Linked DNA regions of Homo sapiens: region 2 is linked to region 1. Evidence: promoter capture Hi-C in human tissues and cell types (Jung and others, 2019). All regions are on one chromosome and are shown on one strand. Each heading gives the region's core, a stretch centred on a gene start or on the middle of the fragment in contact. The rest is flanking DNA. Distances are from core to core; before and after follow the strand shown.

Region 1 (4,156 bases), core at 791-3,290:
GGTGACAGAGTGAGACTCTGTCTCAAAAAAAAGAAAGAAAAAGAGGCCAGGTGCAGTGGCTCACGCCTGTAATCCCAGCGCTTTGAGAGGCAGAGGCGGGCGGATCACTTGAGGTCAGGAGTTTGAGACCAGCCTGGCCAACATGGTGAAACCCTGTCTCTACTAAAAATACAAAAAATAGCCAGGCGTGGTGGCGTGTGCATGTAATCCCAGCTGCTTGGGAGGCTGAGGCAAGAGAATCGCTTGAACCCAGGTGTCGGAAGTTGCAGTGAGCCAAGATCATGCCACTGCACTCTAGCCTGGGCGACAGAGTGAGACTCCCTCTCAAAAAAAAAAAAAAAAGAAAGAAAGAAAAAAAGAAAAAGTAAGCTGTTCTTTAGCACAGGAAATTTTACATCACTCCTTTTTCTCCTTGAACTTGTATTTTCTTTTTACTTCTCTCACATAATGCTTTCCTAATACAATATGTACTTTATCCCTTTTTTTTTTTTTTTTTTTTTTTTGAGATGCAGTCTTGCTGTGTTGCCCAGCCCAGGCTGGAGTGCAATGGCACAATCTCAGCTTACAGCAATCTCCGCCTCCCGGGTTCAAGCGATTCTCCAGCCTCAGCCTCCCCAGTAGCTGGGATTATAGGTGCCTGCCACCACGCCCAGCTAATTTTTGAATTTTGAGCAGAGACAGGGTTTCACCATGTTGGCCAGGCAGATCTTGAACACCTGACCTCAGGTGATCCACCCACCTCAGCCTCCCAAAGTGCTGGGATTATAGGCGTGAGCCACTGCGCCCAGCATTTTTTTTTTCCCCCAAGATGGAGTTTCACTCTTGTTGCCCAGACTGGAGTGCAGTGGCGCGATATCAGCTCACCGCAAGCTCTGCCTCCCGGGTTCCAGCGATTCTCCTGCCTCAGCCTCCCGAGTAGCTGGGATTATAGGCATGCACCACCACGCCCAGCTAATTTTTGTATTATTAGTAGAGACAGGGTTTCTCCATGTTGGTCAGGCTAGTCTCAAACTCCTGACCTCAGGTGATCCACCCACCTCAGACTCCCAAAGTGCTAGCTAGGATTACAGGCGTGAGCAACTGCACCCGGCCAAGAATTCTTAAATATAAGACACAAAATTGTATAGGAAATACAACTTATATTGAGAGAGATGTTCTCATGCTAGAGTGAGACAGTGATAAGCATCAATGTTTTTGTTGGCTGGTTGGTTGTTTTTCTGAGACAGAGTCTTGCTCTGTTGCCTAGGCTGGAGTGCAGTGGTGCAAATGTGGTTCACTGCAGCCTCGACCTCTTGGGCTCAGGCAGTCTCCTGCCTCAGCCTCCCACGTACATGGGAATACAGGTGTGCATGACCATGCTCAACTAATTTTTTGTAGAGACAGGGACTCACTTTGTTGCCCAGGCTGGTCTCCTGGGCTCAAGCCTTGGCCTCTCAAAGTGCTGGGATTACAGGTATGAGCCATTATGCTTAGGCTGTGTTTTCGTTGTTATTGTTGTCTTTTTTTTTTTTTTTTTTTTTTGAGACAGTCTGACTGTGTTGCCCAGGCTGGAGTGCAGTAGCTATTCACAGGCATGATCGTAGTTCACTGCAGCCTCAAACTTCTAGGCTCAAGTGATCCTCCTGCCTCAGTCTCCTGAGTAGCTGGGACTACAGGTACATACCGCCACACCTGGCTAGGCTCAATTTTATTTCAACGTTTCAATCTCACACATGGTAATGCTGAGGTATCTTATTCACATAAGTACCTGGGAAAGGAAGAAGTTCTAGCAGAGTCACTCAATACCACCTAATCATCAAGCAGATGACAACAAAATTTGTTTCAGGTCCTTCCATTCAAAAGCAAAATATTGGGAAAGCTTTAGTTTGTAGAAAGGATCTATAATACAGTCATTTGAGTCATTCACTTTCTCAATATTGAAATCACTATTTCAAACTGTTTCTGTTTGAATTCCCAGAGATTTTTACACATCAAGACAATATACCAAATACCAGATCTCCCAACATACCAAACATCAGATCAACCAACAAACCAAATACCAGATCACCAACAAACCAAATACCAGATCTCCCAACATACCAAATACCAGATCACCAACATACCAAATACCAGATCACCAACATACCAAATACCAGATCTCCAACATACCAAATACCAGATCTCCAACATACCAAATACCAGATCTCCAACATACTAAATACCAGATCACCTAGCATACCAAATACCAGATCTCCCAACATACCAAATATCAGATCAACCAACAAACCAAATACCAGATCACCAACAAACCAAATACCAGATCTCCCAACATACCGAATACCAGATCACCAACATACCAAATACCAGATCTCCAACATACCAAATACCAGATCTCCAACATACCAAATACCAGATCACCTAACATACCAAATACCAGCTCTCCCAACATACCAAATACAAGATCTCCCAACATACCAAATACCAGATCTCCAACATACCAAATACCAGATCAACAACATACTAGATCTCCTAAGATCTAGGATGAAGGGCCAGGCATGATGGCTCATGCCTATAATCCTAGCACTTTGGGAGGCTGAGGTAGGTGGATCACTTAAGCCCAGGAGTTTGAGACCAACCGGAGCAACATGGCAAAACCCCATCTCTACTAAAAATACAAAAATTAGCCAGGCACGATGGCTCACACCTGTAATCCCACACTTTGGGAGGCTGAGGCGGGAGGATCACTTCAGGCAAGAGGTCTAAGACCAGCCTGGCCAACATAGCAAAACACCGTCTCTACTAAAAACACAAAAAATTAGGCCAGGTGCGGTGGCTCATGCCTGTAATCCCAGCACTTTGAGAGGTCGAGGCGGGCAGATCACAAGGTCAGGAGTTCCAGAACAGCCTGACCAACATGGTGAAACCCCGTCTCTACTAAAAACACAAAAATTATCTGGGCATGGTGGCTTGCACCTGTAGTCCCAGCTACTCAGGAGGCCGAGGCAGGAGAATCACTTGAACCCAGGAGGCGGAGGTTGCAGTGAGCCGAGATCGAGCCACTGCACTCCAGCCTGGGTGACAGAGCGAGACTATGTCTCAAAAAAAAAAAAAAAAAAAAAAATAGCCAGGTGTGGTGGTGCGCACCTGTAATCCCAACCACTGCACTCCAGCCTGGGCGACAGAGCAAGACTCCATCTCAAAAAAAAAAAAAAAAAAAATTAACCCGGTGTGGTGGCGTGCACCTTAATCCCAGCTACTCGGGAGAGTGAGGGAGAATCACTGGAACCCAGGAGGCAGAGGTTGCAGTGAGCCGAGATCGTGCCACTGCACTTCAGCCTGGGTGACAGAGGGTGACTCTCTCAAAAAAATAAACAAGTAAATAAAAATAAAAATACAAAAATTAGGCAGATGTGATGGCACATGCCTGTAATCCCATCTATTCAGGCAGTTGAGGTGGGAGGATCACTTGAGCCTGAGAGGTCGAGGCTTCAGTGAGCCATGATCTCACCACTGCACTCCAGTCTGGGCAACAGGGTGAGAACTTGTCTCAAAAAAAAAACAAAAAAAAGCCTGTAATCCCAGCACTTTGGGAGGCCGAGGTGGGCAGATCACCTGAGGTCAGGAGTTCGAGACCAGCCTGGCCAACATGTCAAAACTCCTCTCTACTAAAAATACAAAAATTAGCCAGGCGTGGTGGCACATGCCTGTAATCACAGCTACTCAGGAGGCTGAGGCAGGAGCATCACTTGAACCCGGGAGGCGGAGGTTGCAGTGAGCTGAGATCGTGCCATTGCACTCCAGCCCAGGTGACAGAGCAAGACTCCATCTCAGAAAAAAAAAGATATAGGATGGGTGAGACATATATGTCCTTTGTAGCATATCCACTAAATTATGCTATAATAACAACCAACATCAAAATCTATGTTGCTTAAGCCAACAAAGGTTCCTCCCCATCTTCCCCAACACTCTAATGTCCATCACAAGTTGGTTGAGGTTCTGATCCATACCATCATCACTCAGAGATCCAGACTCTACCAGCTAAAATGTCATCAGTCACCATGGCAGAGAGAAGGTAAGAAGGAGAATCACATACTGGCTCGTAAATGCTTCTACCCAGAAGAGACACTTTTGCTCATAGTTCACTGTCCAAAGCAAGTCACACGGCCACGCCTAACTT
Region 2 (4,156 bases), core at 978-3,477, 410 kb after region 1:
TCTACTAAAAATACAAAATTAGCTGGGGTGTAGTGGTGCATGCCTGTAATCCCTGCTACTCGGGAGGCTGAGGCAGGAGAATCGCTTGAACCCGGGAGGTGGAGGTTGTGGTGAACCAAGATCATGCCATTGCACTCCAGCCTGGGCAACAAGAGCGAAACTCCATCTCAAAAAAAGAAAGAAAGAAAATGCCTTAGAAAACCATCTGAACAATTTCCAGTTTTACCCTGGCCCTGCTTAAAGAGTCTGAGATCAATACGCTTTGGAATTAGACAACTTGGGATCAAATATGGGAAACTGCCACAAACTCGTTGTGTGACTGTTGGCAAGTTAACCTCTCTATGCAACTTCCTAACCTGTAAAATTAGCATAATACTTCCTACTTCTCAAGGCTGTTATAAAGATTCAAAATCTGGTATATGTAATGACCTTAGCACACCTCTCTCTATATATACACAGATACATACATATATATACACACATACACATACATACATATATATACACATACATATATGTATGTGTATATATATGTATGTATGTGTATATATATATATATATATAGTAAATGCTCCGAAACACCATTGCTGAACCTGGGGATACATGGTTTAAAACTTGTAAACAAAAGAATCCTAGGGAAATCACTATTGCCCCATCAGCTAATTAGAGTATATATATTCCTTGAGGTAGGGTCCCCAAGTTCTCTATTTTTTTTTTTTTTGAGACGGAGTCTTGCTCTGTCGCCCAGGCTGGAATGCAGTGGTGCGATCTCGGCTCACTGCAACCTCCGCCTCCAGAGTAGCTGGGATTACAGGCGCCCGCCACCACGCATGGCTAATTTTTGTATTTTTAGTAGAGACGGGGTTTCACCATCTTGGCCAGGCTGGTCTTGAACTCCTGACCTCGTGATCCACCCGCCTCCGCCTCCCAAAGTGCTGGGATTACAGGCGTGGGCCACCGCGCCCGGCCTGTATTTTGTATTCTTAAAACCACCTAGGGCAGTACAAGACACAAGGAACTAGACACTTACTGGTTTTGAGAGTAAGTGGACAATGTTGGAGCAGGATAGGGGAGACCTGTCATTCGTGCAGTGCCACCGTGTAATCCTATACTTTGTGTTTACAGGATTTTACAGTGCACCTGGAACTTTTGTGTACCACACATCATTAACACAAAATTAACATGGTGGTATGAGCTGGGAAGGTTAGCTATCGCTTCATTTTGCGCGTAAAACAGAGGCTTAGCCCTGGGAAATGGAAGTTTAAAGCCTCCTGCTGCTCCAGGTTCCAACCACCACCACTCCTACCCCCATGAGCGGCCGCTGCTCTCACCCGCTTCTTCTCCTCCACCTCCTGCACACACTTCACCCTCCAGCGGTCAATCTCCTGCTCGCGTTCCACTGCCCGCGCGGCCTCTGCCTCCCGCTCGGCCTCGCGTTCCCGGGCCCTCTCGCGAAGCCGCAGCCGGCGGCGCCGGACCCTCTCCAGCCTCCTCCGCGCCTCGCCCACATAGGCAGCCTGGGTCAACGGCTGTAGCCGCTCGGCCAGTTCCGCGCGCAGCGGCGCGGTCTGGGAGTACAGCAGGACCCAGGCCGCGCCGTCGGCTTCGGCCTCGCGCAGGGCCTGGCTCAGGCCGCGCAGCCGCCGCACCAGGCGCAGAGCCCGGAGCAATCGCGCGCGCACTTCGCCAAGGCTGGGCCCGGCATGCGTGCGCTGGGGCACCGGACAGCCTGCCCGCCGCGGGGTCCCGAACACCGCCTCCAGCCACTGCCGGTCGCGCAGGCGTTGGAGGGCCGCATCCCCGAGCACGTCGGCCGGCGGCGGCGGCGCCTCAGGCCACCGCGGGCTCCAGGGCGGCCCCGGGCCGGGAGGCGGTGGCCGCGGCCGCTCGCCGGCGTCGGTCCCCGGGAAGGGCCGACACTGGGGCGGCGGAGGAGGCAGCGGCGGTGGTGGCACCGGGTAGAAGGCGCCAGCGCCGCCTCCGCCGCGGGAGGCCTCCGCGGAGGCTCGGGGCTGCAGAGCCAGCGGAGGCTGAAGGAAGGGGGCGGAGGCCCCCGGAAAAGGGCCGGGCCGCTGGGGGAGAGGCGGCGGGAAAGCCGGGGAGGGCAGCGGCGGTGGCGGACAGCCGAAAGGAGCAGGAGGCGGCGGCTGCGGGGGCGGTGGGCCTGGGCGACCCTGGCCGAAGAATGGTGGCAGGGCCATGTTCACGACGGAGATGCTTTGAGAAGTGACAGGAATCTGAGTGGCTCCTCATGAGAACCTTCCGACGGAAGTGACGTCGTTACGACGCGCGACCCCTGTAGACTCGTCCCTCCGGAAGGCTCAGTGCATAAGTGGGCAGTCGTTCAACCTTCTGTCGTTCAGTTCATAAATACCGTTCTTATTGAGCATCCTAGGTGCAGAGCTACCCACTCCGCATACAGTGAGACTGAGAGATACAGAGCTTCTCTTCGTGGAACTATCTGCCTAGTATAACACACTAATCAATTAATCATGGTGAGTATCTTCGAGAAGTTGGAGAAGGTTATCCTAAGAAACTGCGGCTGCAGCTGAGATCTGGAAGATAAATAGTTAAATAGAAAAAGAGAGGGAAGCACAGTGCAGATGAGAACATGTGCAAAGGCCCTAGTAAATAGGAGTGTGACCAACTACCCATTTTCTTAGAAAAATGAATTATTTTTACTTTTCTCCTTTCACCCCACCTCCTATTTAGCTCTTTAGGAATGCAATTATAGGGTGGGTGCTGTGGCTCACGTCTGTAATCCCAGCACTTTGGGAGGCCGAGGCAGGCGAGATCGGCCTGTAGTCCCAGCCATTGGGGAGGCTGAGGTGGGAGGATCACCTGAGCCCTGGGAGGTAAAGACTGCAATGAGCCACGATAACGCCACTGCACTCCACCCTGGGCGACAGAATGACACCTGTCAAAAAAAAAAATCCAATTAACCTTTACCTTCTCTCCACCAGACACTCTCTACACTGTAAGCTTATCTAATTATGTGTTCGCTTATTAGTTCCAAGGACCGAAGCTTAAACCAGGGACCTCTGGAACTTTCCCATACCAGGGGATTGCCTGGGGACAACTGTCAATTTACAACCTAGCTCCCCGCTACCCCCCACCCCCCCTCCGCCTTCGCCCCAGCCTCCATGGCGCCAACCAGATCACTGATGGATACATAGGAGCAAGTCCCATAGACCCAGCACCTCCTTGGTCCCTCCCCACCCCTTGCATGCCATCCAGGTCAACCAAGTCCCGTGCACCCCCCACTTTTTTTGAGACAGAGTCCCTCTGTCACCCAGGCTGGAGTGCAATGACGCACTCTCCACTCACTGCAACCACTGCATCCCAGGTTCCAGTTATTCTTGGTGCCTCAGCCTCCCTAGTCAGTTGCTGGGATTATAGACCCCTGCTGCCACGCCTGGCTAATTTTTGTGTTTTTAGTAGAGAGGGGGTTTCACAATGCTGGCTAGGCTGGTCGTAAACTCCTTACATCAGGTGATCCGTCCACCTTGGCCTCCCAAAGTGCTGGGGTTACAGGTGTGAGCCACCACACCTGGCCACTTTCTTTCTTTTTTTTTTTTTATGAGACAGAGTCTCCCTGTGTCGCCCAGGCTGGAGTGCAGTGGCGTGATCTTGGCTCATTGTAAGCTCTGCCTCCTGGGTTCATGCCATTCTTCTGCCTCAGCCTCCCGAGTAGCTGGGATTACAGGTGCCCACCACCATGCCTGGCTAATTTTTTTGTATTTTTAGTGGAGATGGGGTTTCACCATGTTAGCCAGGATGGTCTCGATCTCCTGACCTCATGATCCGCCTGCCTTGGATCATGTTGGGATTACAGGCGTGAGCCACCGTGCCCGTGGCAGTCACTTTCTTTTTACCATTCTCTTACTTGTTATTTGAATTTGCAAGCTGCAGGGAACTGGACCTGCCTTAGGTTACAGGACTATGTCTAGTGGGAAGCCTGATAGAATGCCAGTTTTGGCCTGTAATCCCAGCACTTTGGGAGGCCGAGGCGGGTGGATTGCCTGAGCTCAGGAGTTCAAGGCCAGCCTGGGCAATATGGTGAATTCCTGTCTCTACTAAAACACAAAAATTAGCCAGGTGTGGTGGTGCGTGCCCGTAATCCCAGCTACTGGGGAGGCTGAGGCAGGAGAATTGC

What was found. The method cuts DNA at HindIII sites, captures the fragments that hold promoters and counts their contacts. A contact is called where the count stands out against the background at its distance.
Region 2: a contact is called between the fragment with the promoter of PDCD7 here and a fragment that was not itself captured in region 1, in 2 of the 25 tissues and cell types used here (dorsolateral prefrontal cortex and spleen).

Annotation. Positions count from the first base shown.
Region 1 is chr15:64,722,187-64,726,342 of GRCh38, forward strand. No RefSeq gene overlaps it. Among named protein-coding and RNA genes, the nearest start is that of OAZ2, 21 kb to the left of the region's middle. The HindIII fragment of the contact is 6,629 bases long and covers 1-4,156 here.
Region 2 is chr15:65,131,581-65,135,736 of GRCh38, forward strand. It overlaps PDCD7 (programmed cell death 7), which reads right to left and starts at 2,228. Exons shown (of 5, transcript NM_005707.2): 1 at 1,332-2,228. The coding sequence starts at 2,201. RefSeq lists silencers at 1,454-1,853, 1,914-2,123 and an enhancer at 2,414-2,513. The HindIII fragment of the contact is 7,758 bases long and covers 1-4,156 here.